Regions from separate parts of the Homo sapiens genome. Here region 1 is linked to region 2. The links are contacts of gene promoters, found by promoter capture Hi-C in human tissues and cell types (Jung and others, 2019). All regions are on one chromosome and are shown on one strand. The core of a region is centred on a gene start or on the middle of the fragment in contact, and the rest is flanking DNA. Distances in the headings are between cores, read along the strand shown.

Evidence for each region. The method cuts DNA at HindIII sites, captures the fragments that hold promoters and counts their contacts. A contact is called where the count stands out against the background at its distance.
Region 1: a contact is called between a fragment that was not itself captured here and the fragment with the promoter of MAP7 in region 2, in 1 of the 25 tissues and cell types used here (ovary).

What each region holds. Positions count from the first base shown.
Region 1 is chr6:135,521,680-135,527,410 of GRCh38, reverse strand. The region is part of intron 2 of AHI1-DT (AHI1 divergent transcript); the gene reads right to left. Among named protein-coding and RNA genes, the nearest start is that of AHI1-DT, 27 kb to the right of the region's middle. The HindIII fragment of the contact is 5,270 bases long and covers 1-4,041 here.
Region 2 is chr6:136,545,663-136,551,818 of GRCh38, reverse strand. It overlaps MAP7 (microtubule associated protein 7), which reads left to right and starts at 1,397. Exons shown (of 18, transcript NM_003980.6): 1 at 1,397-1,477. The coding sequence starts at 1,411. It overlaps MAP7-AS1 (MAP7 antisense RNA 1), which reads left to right. Exons shown (of 1, transcript NR_186370.1): 1 at 1-1,096. RefSeq lists silencers at 1,096-1,445, 1,486-1,665, 1,676-1,725 and enhancers at 947-1,484, 2,023-2,561. The HindIII fragment of the contact is 8,644 bases long and covers 1-6,139 here.

The DNA.
Region 1 (5,731 bases), core at 157-2,656, 1.0 Mb after region 2:
TATGTGGGAAATGTTATTATCCAACAGATGACAGTTTTATGTTCGGAATGGGAGAGGTTGTCTGGGTTGTAATAGGGCCTTAGCCAGTGGGCTGCAGAGGGGAGAAAATTGGGATAGGATCCAGATCCCCCAGAGAGAAGAGGTTGGCAAGACTAGTCAATTCGTAGGCCCAGACAATTTGGCTGGAGTTCAGGGCTAGAATCCGTTACCAGCAAAGAATAAAGTGCAAACAAAGAACAGAGGCAAGAATCTAGAAACACAGTGAGGTTAGGGTTGGGATTGAGGGGCTTACTATTTATTGGTGGCCACATAAATGTTTACATAGGGCTCCCTCAATAGCAGGCTTAGGGCGATGGATGAACTCCAGACTCTGATTGATAGAAATGGACCTCCTAACATCCCGTCAAGCCTAGGTCTCATTTGAGTAACAACTTGATGGTGCTGTGTTGTAGGTTGACATTATGTAGTATTGGCTGCTGGGCATGGCTATGCAAGAGTGGTCAGTTTGGGGCACTATTTTTTTATTCTGTAATAAGCTTAAATAAACCCAAAACTATATTAAAATTGACCATTTGTTTATATGCTAGATGTCAGCCCCACAAGGGGAATTTTTTCTTTTTTTTTTCATTGACATATAACATGTACCTAGCTGACATATAGTTAGTATTTAACAGGTGTTTGTTGAATTGAAAATGAATTAATCAAATATATTCTAAACATTACCAAAGGGTTTGCAAAATTTGGATGTGATCCCCTAATTACACTGTATTTTAGTTTCTTTAATCACAATGATACTGCAATTCCAGATCAACAAAAGACAGAAACTGATCAAAGCGTTTTCCATACCTTTATTCCACTAAAACAGAAGATAAATATTATTTTATTTATCAAGAAACCAAAAGTAGGGGGTTTTGACGATTGGTTAACTTTATGTGTCAAGTTGACTGAACCATGGCATACCCAGATAGTTGATCAAACATTATACTGGATGAGTTTAACGTTGAAATTGATAGACTGAGCAAAGCACACTGCCCTTTCTAATGTTGTGGGCCTCATCAAAACAATTGATAGCCTAAATAGAACAAAAAGGCTGACAGTCTCATAAATAAGAGGGAATTCCTCCTGCCTAAATGCCTTCAAGTTGGGACATTGGGTTTTTTTTTCCCGCCTTTGAACTTTAATCAGCTTTTCCTGGTTCTTGGGCCTGCTAGCCGTTAGACTACACCGTCAGTTCTCCTGAGTCTCCAGCTTGCCAACTGCAGATATTGGAATTTGTCAGCCTCTGTAACTGCATGAGCTAATTCCTTATTATATACTTATATATACATTCTATTGGTTCTGTTCCTCTGGAGAATCCTTACTAATACAGGGAGTTGCAGCCCTGGTTAATTCAGTAGCTCAACAGCATCAAGGACAAGATTCTTGCCATTTTCTTATTCTGCTGTCTTTAGCATCTTGGCTTGCTGACTTACACTGGTTCTCCTCATGGCCTAAGTGCCTGTAGTAGCTCTAGGCATCACTTCCTCCGCCACACACATAAAGAGTCAGAATAAAGTTACTGTTTCTTCAAATATGTTTCTGTTTAAGAGCAGCCTTTCTGAAGCAACTCCAGGCTGGCTTCCCCTTATCTTTCATTGACCAGAAAGATCACATGACTCTTGTTAAACCAGTCTCTGAAAAGCAGAATAGAATCACCATGATTGGCTAAGAGTAACTAAATTTATCCCCTTGAACAAGGGATCTGATTCACTTTCCCTGAGCCAATGGCCACTAGCAGGTGAACAAGTGAACATGTTTTAACAGCCTGAAAGAAGAGGGAAATGGGCTTGAAAGAAAATACCTTCTTGCTATTCCTACCCTGCATTTAGCCCTCCATTTGAATGAGGCAGGAATCTTGAATTTTCCTAATGGTCCTGAGCCCCAAAACTGACTTTCCCAATAAGTGATGAGGAGGTTTAGGAACTTAGAGTCCACAACCAGGATCTCTACTTGCAGTTTCAGAACTGAAACACTCACTACATGTCTTAGGCCATTCCTGCTACTGCAACAAAATACTTTACACTGGGTAATTTATAAATAACAGAAAATTATTGCTTACAGTTTTAGAGGCTGGAAGGTCCAAGATCAAGGTCCCAGGAGACTGTGTCTGGTGAGGGTCTGTCTCTGCTTCCAAGATTATACCTGGTTGCTGCATCCTAACATGGAGGACTGGATGAACTCTGTTTCCCCATATGGTGGAAGGGATGAAGGAGATGAAAGGGGAAGCAGATCTCTGAAGTCTCTTGTGTAAGGGCATTAATTCCATTCACAAACCTGGAGCCCCCATGACCTAATCACCTCCCAGAGTCCCCACCTCCTAATACCATCACCTTGGTGATTAGGTTTCAACATATGAATTTTGGAGGGACACGTACACTCAAACTATAGCACTCCCCCAGTACTCATCTGATTCCCTTCTTGGGAATTGACCACAGTTGAAGAAAGGGCCCTCATTCATCAAGTTGCAGTTGGGTAGGGTTGGGAGACTGGTCTGTGCAGGAGCATAAAGGCACAGCCCCCTTTGCCTCTCAAAGCTGGGGTCATCCCAGCCCCAGTCTTCCCCATAGGATTAGTTGAGGTGTTTATTATGGCAGCGTTGTTATTCATTCTCTCCCTCCACCCAATTCTGTATTTTTTTACTCCGCTCTATCCCCATCTGTTCACTCCCACCCCAAGGATGGATCCCAAGAGCCTTCCTAAATAAATCTCCATATTCAAACCTTCTCCTTAGAGCCTGTTTTCTTGGAAATCCAACCTGAACAGGGGCAGACCACAGAGGGGCCTGACCTGCAGTTTATGTGACTATCAGGTAACTGCTCCCCTAGATGGAGACCACGATCTGACCCCTTCTCCAGGGCAGAAATTGTGGCCTGTGGTGAAATATATTACAAATTCTACTTGCTTTAATTGGTGTATAAAAGTTCAAATTTAGGCCCAAATTTCTCCCTAATCTAGCTACAGATCTATAGAGATATATATATATATATATATATATATATATATATATATATCAAAAAAGGACATGTAACAGATTTCTAAATAAAAGCTTCAAGCAAATAATTTGCAAATGTTATTATTCTCCCTTTGTGCTAATCTTTTATAAAAAGGCATAGCCACCTTTGCATAAGTCACTTTAAAAACAATAAAAAAATACCGGGCGCGGTGGCTCACGCTTGTAATCCCAGCACTTTGGGAGTCCAAGGCGGGCGGATCATGAGGTCAGGAGATCGAGACCATCCTGGCTAACATGGTGAAACCCCATCTTTACTAAAAATACAAAAAATTAGCCGGGTGTGGTAGCAGGCGCCTGTAGTCCCAACTACTTGGGAGGCTGAGGCAGGAGAATGGCGTGAACCCGGGAGGCGGAGCTTGCAGTGAGCGGAGATCGTGCCACTGCACTCCAGCCTGGGCAACAGAGCGAGACTCTGTCTCAAAATAATAATAATAATAATAATAAAATAAAAAATAGATTAGATCCATCTGCTACCTCATGAAGGAAAAATTATTACTAGGCAATGTCTAGGATCTTAGGACTCACTTGGAGATTTTTCAGAGGATATCCCATAAATAACATCTATAATATGCAAGGCACAGTCTTGGAAATACAAAAATGAAAAAGGCATATTGCCTTAAGAAGTTTATACTCTAGTGGAGCAGACAGAGAAGTGAAAGGTGTAGCATGATAAATGCATGAGAGAGAAGGGTATTTTGAGGGGACCCAGCAAGTCACCTAATTCAGCCTAGGTAATAGAGAAGGTTTACCAGAAGTAAGGCAGTAGCGCACTTAGCAGAATTTATACTTTCAAGGAAGAGGAGAGTTCCCGGGAGAGAGAAAAACATATGCACAGGCCCAGAGATAAGAGATAAGGCCCAGGACTTATTCTAGAAACTGAAAGTATTACCATTATATTGCAACACTTAAACAGTGCCTGACAATGTTGAATGCTTAGTCAATATTTGCTAAGTAGATAAACAAATGAAGTAATTGCATCATTTGACACATCTAGTATAAGGCAGGACAGCCGTGAGAGATGATGTTGGAAAGATTACATAGGAATTAGGTCATGAAGCGTCTTCCTAATATGTCAAGTTAAAGGGTTCCTTATTCTGAAACATGAGAAATTTAAAAATTTAAGTATGGTGGCCATGAACAGAGTTGCTGACAACCATGCACACTACAGATTACAGAGGCATGATTGAGGGCAGGGAGTCTAGTAGGAGATCATCACAGTAATCCAGGGAAGACATACACTGTCGTGAAGGCTTGAGAAAGCGCAACAGAGATCAAGAAATAATAAAGATCAATGCATTCTGGAGATATTTAGAAAGCACTATGAACAAGACTTGGATAACAGTTTGGATTTGCATCCTTGGTGAGAAACAGACACCATTTGCTTTAAAAAATCTTGGGAATTTCATTGGACATTTTGTATCCACCATGCAGTGTGAGTTATCAGTTGTCAAGATGCTTTTAGGTGCCTTAACTGAACTTACCTCTGCAAGAAACTTTTTCACAAAGTTATTATAACCCCCAATATTGCTACATCTCCTTTGGTTTTCTTTGTTTTCCAATTTCTTTTGTTTCCTTGGTAACGCATGTAGTAAGGTAAAAGAAAAAAATGCTTCTAATGTCTATATTGTTCAGGGCTGTTGTTTCATTATGTGATACTTCAAAAAATAGCCTTTCACATCAAATATTAAATTATTCAGAAGAAATAAAAGGTTAACATTACCAATGAGGAAACATATTCTGTACCCTTTCCAATCTATATTCCTCAAGGGGAGGTGTAGCTGGACCAAAGTAGAGATACTTATAGATCTTCATCGTGCTCCTAAGAGTGACAGGCTGGGATATACAGAAGCAACAGCAAGGCCAGGCTGGCCACTCAATGTTTCACCTCCTTGTGAGGAGATTATTTCAGAAAGCAAAGAGATCAGGGGAGGGGAAAGATTAAAAGCTTTATTCTTGGCCAGGCGTGGGGGCTCACGCCTGTAATCCCAGCACTTTGTTGGCCTCCAAAGAAGTGATAAATTGGGAAGCTGAAGGGGGTGGATCACGAGGTCAGGAGTTCGAGACCAACCTGACCAACATGGTGAAATCTCGTCTCTACTAACTATACAAAAAATTAGCCAGGCGTGGTGACATGCGCCTGTAATCCCAGCTACTCAGGAGGCTGAGGCAGGAGAATCACTTGAACCCAGGAGGCAGAGGTTGCAGTGAGCCGAGATTGTGCCACTGCACTCCAGCCTGGGTGACAGAGCAAGACTCTGTCTCCAAAAAAAAAAAGCGTTATTCTCTTCCAAATTTACCGCAGTTGTTCTGTTTCAATATGAGATCTTCTTATGATTAACATCAGCCCTCTATACTCAGTCTCAGGAATCTGCAAACTTAGTTTTTTGATACTCCTATACAGTGCCATTCATCAATAAGTTTGGAATGGGGGCAGGAGATAATTTCAAAAACAGTATAATATTATCTAGGAGAATACAGCATCATTACATTATTCACATAAATTATCCACTTTTCTCACAGATGGGTTCACATTAAAATGAATGGTAATAGGAGGAATAAAAAAATTCAATCCAAGGCAAATCTTTTATCTGTTAATATTTTCAACCCCTTTTATTTAAAATGTTAATTCTAATTTGTGAAAAAATTTGTATTAAATGAAGTTGAAACATGTGGCATAGA
Region 2 (6,156 bases), core at 148-2,647:
TCTGATGCTCAAAGAAAAGTGTCTTAAACTCTGATGTTTTAATGTAGTTAAAAAAAACACAAAAAATCTTTGCTGAGGCCCAAGCTGAGGTCAAAAACTACCTCTAGCCATCTGGTGCTTTATTTTTATTGATTAGAAGTCTCTGATAAGACTGATTTGAATGTGATTTAGGAATATCACATTCTAAATGGTCAGTTTGCCTATTCCATTATAGAAATGACACTACGGGAAAATTCATCATCACAGACCACAGCAGAAGTGTTCTTTAGTTAAAGCTCTACCTAGTCATCCAGAAAGCCAGTAAGTAAACCAAATAAAAATAGTTCACTGGGCTCAGAGTGGCAAGTTTTGCATGCAAAGATCGTGAAAATTGTAACCCTAACAATAAATCCAATACTGTTCTCGACTCTCTTGTGTGTCCAGTGCTGCTGCAGTCCTTGGAAGGCTTTTAAACTGTTCAGAGCTTGCTGGTTATCTTCAGCCAAGCCAGAGAGTGGGAGTGCAGTGCATTTTAGTGTAACCATGCGGAACTGGTCGCTCCTTGATTTTGTGCCGTATGTTTCCATTTGTGTAGGCTTTTTCCCCCCTCAGTATTTTGTTGCTTATCCTTTAGAGCGAAATTGGTTTTTCCTCGGCCAATAATCTGTTTCTTTAAAAAAAGAAAAATTCGTTACCTATTGCCTTTTTTTCTGGTCTTCCTGAGCAAGCCAGAAGTCACAAGGTCGTTTACTAAACGGAAACTAAGAAAAAGAAAAGCCACATCAGCCGGCACAAGCCTCTCTAACTTGTGTGCCCTGAGGCTCATCAGATGCGAAGTCCTGGCGACAAGATAGGGTCGCCCGCAGTGGCTTCCTAAAGCGCAGATCCAGGCCGGCTCCCAGCGTGGAATCCGACCCATGTACTTCGCCTCTCCACGTGGCATCAGATGCTCTGCCGGCTGTCACCGTGAACTCCAGCCCTCGCGGAGCCGACACTGACCTGGCTACTTCAGAGTTCGGAGGGAAATAGCGTCTCCGTACCCTCGCCCCACCTGGGCTGCTCCTCGGACCGCCGCTCGTCCCAGACTCCAGGAGGCGCCACCAGGCCTCGCTGACCCCGCTCCATATCTCCGGGAGCCCTCAGCTGGTCGGCCGCGGCGACCGGAAGCTCCGGACTGAGGTACTGGTTCCGCCCGCCGCTCTTCCAGCCGAGACTCGGCAGCGGCGGTCGGAGCGGCTGCCACGCCGCACCTGCCCGCGAGGGGGCGCGCCAGGCCCAGGCCGCAGCCGACTGCCGCGCTCTCTGTCCCCGCCCTCCGCCATCCCCGGACTGCGCTCACCTGTCTGGGCCGCTGGCCTGGGAGGCGGGGGCCGGCGGGAGCCAAGCCGAGGAAAGGGCGGAGCGGCTCTCCGGGCGCGTCATCGGAGCACCATGGCGGAGCTAGGAGCTGGCGGCGACGGCCACAGGGGCGGCGACGGCGCAGTGCGAAGCGAAACAGGTGACCGCACAGCGGGGATAGTGGGGGTCCCGTCGGGCAGGGGACGGCGAGCGGGGCCGGCGGGCTGGCACCGAAATCACCCGGCGCCGGCAGCCCCCTCCCCGCCCGCGCGGCCGCGGCCCGGAACAACCGGCCCTGCGCGCCGCGCACCCTGCTCCGAGAGCGCCTTCCCCCGCCCTTCGCCGCCGCGGCTCGGCCAGCCCGGCTCGGCCCCGGCCGGGGTTGCGGCCGCCCTCGGGCGCTCCACCGCGACTTTCCCGCAACAGGTGGAGGCGAGCCGGGGGAGGAAACGGAGAGACCCCGGCCGCTGCCCTCCCCGCCGCGGCCTCGGGTCTAATTCAGTTGAATGGGAAATCGTATCCCCCAGACCAAACCAGTGGCCAGAGAGTCGTCGGCCAGGTGCGACTGGCAGGACGAGCAGTTTCTGGGCACCTCCTCCCGCCTTCCCTGGTCGCCCCGGGTGCCGGGGGCTCCTCAGCGGGGTCGGTGTGGGGCAGGACCGCGGGGTGAGCGGCCCGCCCCCCAATCTGGTGCCCGCAGTGGCGACGACCGTCGTCCGAGGGGACCGAGCTCGGGAGGGCCGGGGCCCAGTGCAGCACGGTGGGGGTTTGCGAGTGCGGGCTTGACGGGATCAGACTTTCGTTGACTTGTCGGAGTTCTCAGAGTTTTTTGTTTTTAGTCTGTGCAGGAGCCCAAAGGAGGATTGTTGGCTCTGCAGCCCGGGATTTGGTGGTCAGGCCTCTGTGTTGAGGATACCCCTCCCCCACAACCTCCAGGGGCACACTTAGGGACAGGGGATCACGTCCCCAAGACCAGCAGCAAGGCTTCCCAAGACCAGCAGCAAGGCTTCCCAACCCCGCCCATCTCTCCATAGTATGAAGCCGATTTTTCTCCCTCGTGATTTTTTTTTCTCCAGAGGCTATCTTGCAAATCCGTCCCTCTCCACTGGTTCCCTCTTCTATTCTTGGCCAGTAAGCTGTTTCTATATCTTCCTACACTTGGGGATGGGGGCAGTGAGGCAGTTTCTTACTTTAAAAAGAAATTCAATTCTTAGACTCTCCAATTGCAAGCTGTTTTCCACTTCCATACGGTCACAATCGGAAGCATTTGTTTCCTAAATGTAAGAATCACTGTCTCCCCACCATCAAGTATGCTTATTTTAACGTGAAAGGTCCAGAGAGCTCTGAAACAGTATTTGCAAATTATGTATCTGCTATTGCTAGGAAGAGGTTGGGTACGTAAAGTCTAATGATTTAATCCCTTCAGCCAAGATACCTGAGGTTAAGACTGACAAAGTATCTTGAACTTGTTTAAGTCATGCTCCTTCCTGTAGGGAGTTTGTCTTAATGTGTTCGCAAGATTGGTAGATCATTATTTTGTTTTGGGGTGGAGAAGAGATGCCTTTGTAATTGCTTTCGGGAATTTGATGAGCTAGACGCTGGGACGGGGCTCCCCCAAGTGAGGGCCCCGGGAGAGGAGCATCCTCATTTGTAAATATACGGCATGATTTTCGTTCCTAACCCTGACCCAGTAACTGCATGTGAAACAACATTGTTCTAGCGAGCTAAGTGTTAGTTTGTGCTCAAAAATAAACTTTCTAGAATCTGCACGTGAACAACTTGTTCAGACATAAGTGAACTGACTACAAACTGTAGGATATTCAGTGCCTGAGCATGTTAAGGAATAGGCCGTGCTTCCAACAATTAATATACAAATCAACCATGTGCCTGTCAGTGTAATATTTTCTTTTATTAAAAAGGGAGTTAAATTGGCTGTTATCTCCTTCATAGAAAACATTTCTTCCACACTTTTGCCTAAAAACTTCATTTTCCAAAGGACATTTTTTATATATGGTCTTGAATAATTATACTTTATAATTTCACTGAAAACTTAATTCTGGCCCCGCATCTCTTTCCTATTTTTCTACCCCAAGATTACTATTAATGTTTTTAGTGTTCAGAAGCATTTGTGTCAGCAGGTGCCAAAGAAAGAAGGAAGGTGTAAATGTATTTTTTTGAATCTAGGTGGTAGTTATTTTGAGAGAACAAGTGAGATTGTTTGAATTTCAACAACTTAAGTTATTCCATATATTTAAAACACATGACCTATATCTGAATATGAGACTTTAATTTAGCACTTCATTCTGGTGAACATATTTCACATTATACACATCCAAATACTGCAAGTCTCATTTTTTTAAACAATCAGAAGTTTGTATGGAATTGTTGGGGGGGTGGGGGGGGGTGGTGGTGGTGGGTGGCCGTGGACAGAGAAACTATTACCATCAAGAGTTGAAAATTGCCACCTTAAATGGCAACATTTCTTGAGGGATTAATTTTATTTCTTTTTAGAACTCATTATTATGAGGTAGAGTCCACTCTTAAATAACTCTTAGTTTTTGGGTCTCTATACAAAGACTGGTCTAATTTTAGGGCACTTTAGATGAGAATATCAGGTTATTATAAAAATGATACCTGTAATGTGTTCAGAATTATATGTGTGAGTGTGTGTGTGTGTATATGTGTATCAAAGATGAATTGACAGTGGTGGCGTGTGGCCTATGAAATGAGACCGTTCTTAAGCATATTGAAAGCTATTATATAAACCCAACATTTAAAAACCCTATTTCTGTGGGTATATATTCTCAAAGTTAGTCAAATCACATTCTTTGTGGCGAAAACATTTATTTTTCTTGAGGATGAAAAGTTCTTCCAATATAATATTTTTCTTGCCAACAGCCAAAGTTAAGAGCTGGGAAAAAAAAAATTGCCTTGGAAACAAGTTTAAGACATCACCACTAGAGGATGTCAAGTCCTTTTTCAGCCTTTTTTGAGTAGTCGACCTACGATGGGTGATATTCACAAAACTGCCTCTACCCAAGCTTTGTATATTTAATTTTATGTTCATGTTCAAGAGCTGTGGAAAGCGAGTGTACAGCACTAATTTCCTAGTCTGATAGCCTGTTTTAAAAACCTCCTGAACTAAAAGCAAATTTAAAGCTGCTTTTGATTAATTCATGAAGCTTTCATGCACGAAGGAATAAGTTAATGCCAATAACCTGTCAATTCTGTTGATATTTTGGGAAGTGGGTCATGACTTAGAATCTGGAATTGGGCTTTTTGTCCATTTTAGCAACCTGTGTGGTGAACATGGCCTCTTTCGTGACCATCCTTTCATGAACTTTTCCAAATCAAAAAGTGATCTTGTAGGTGTCACTTAACTCTAAGGGTCCACATTAAATATCTGCAATTAAATAAGGGCTCAGACGTCAATTTGGTATTAAGCTTGTCCCCTTTGAAAGAGATGCTTCATTCACATAGCTAGATAGCTTTTCTCCCATCCTATATGGCTGTTACCTTTACATCTTGCTAAGTAGGAGGAAACGTTATTATTAGACTAGGCAATTGTGCTCAGGAGCATGCATTTATGTAATATTGATAGGCTTGTGTGAAATATTTTTACACAGTTTATTTACACTGGCATTTTCTCTAAAAAAATTCTAACATCTTTGCCTCCCAATGCATGAGAAACAATCATTTGGAAGAGTTATTTTTAAAAACTCGGGCCTCGTATTGATGTAAGAATTGAAAATATTGAGGCTTAGAATAAGAAATGTGTACCTTCTGTGTATTCAGCATTATGGTGGTTAGAAGGCTGTTGAACAAATGATCCTTGAATTTAGCAAGGAAGACAAAATTCACCAACAAACAGTTGCAGGTTATGAGGAGTTCAGTGAAGGAGGAATCACTTCCGGCTGTGGTCAGCAGGAAGAACATACTGGATACAGCACTGAAGTTAAATTTTAAAAAGTGGTGGAACTGGAGATCATTATGTTAAGTGAAATAAGCCAGGCACAGAAAGACAAACATTGCATCTTCTCACTCATTTGTAGGATCTAAAAATCAAAACAATTGAACTCATGGACAGAGAGAGTAGAAGCATGGTTACCAGAGGCTGAGAAGAGTAGTGGGGGTAGGGGGTGGGAGGTGGCAGGGAGGTGGGGATGGTTAATGGTTTGAAAAAAAAAAAGGCCAGAGGCAGTAGCTCACGCCTGTAATCTCACCACTTTGGGAGGCTGAAGCAGGCAGATCACATGAGGCCAGGAGTTTGAGACTAGCCTGGGTTACGTGGTAAAACCCCATCTCTACTAAAAATAAAAAAATTAGCCTGGTGTGGTGGCGCACGCTTATAGTTCCAGCTCTTTGGGAGGCTGAGGCAGAAGAATCACTTGAACCCAGGAGGTTGAGGTTGCAGTGAGCCAAGATTGCACCACTGCACTCCAGCCTGGGTGACAGAGCGAGACCATGTCTCAAAAAACAAAAAGTTAGAAAGAATAAGAATAGTAACAAATACTATTTGATAGCACAGCAGATTGATTATAGTCAATAACTTAATTGTACTTTTAAAAATATCTAAGAGTGTAATTGGATTGTTTGTAACACAAAGGATAAATGCTTGAGGGGATGGATACCCCATTCTCCATGATGTAATTATTTCACATTGCATGCCTGTATCAAAACATTTCATGTACCATATAAATATATATACCTACTATTTACCCACAAAAATAAAAAAAAATTAAATTTGTTTTAATTTAAAAAATAAAAAAATAAACTTTTAAAAATGGGTAAGTGGGATATAAAATTAGATGGAGGAAAGGGAGAAAAAGATGCAGGTGT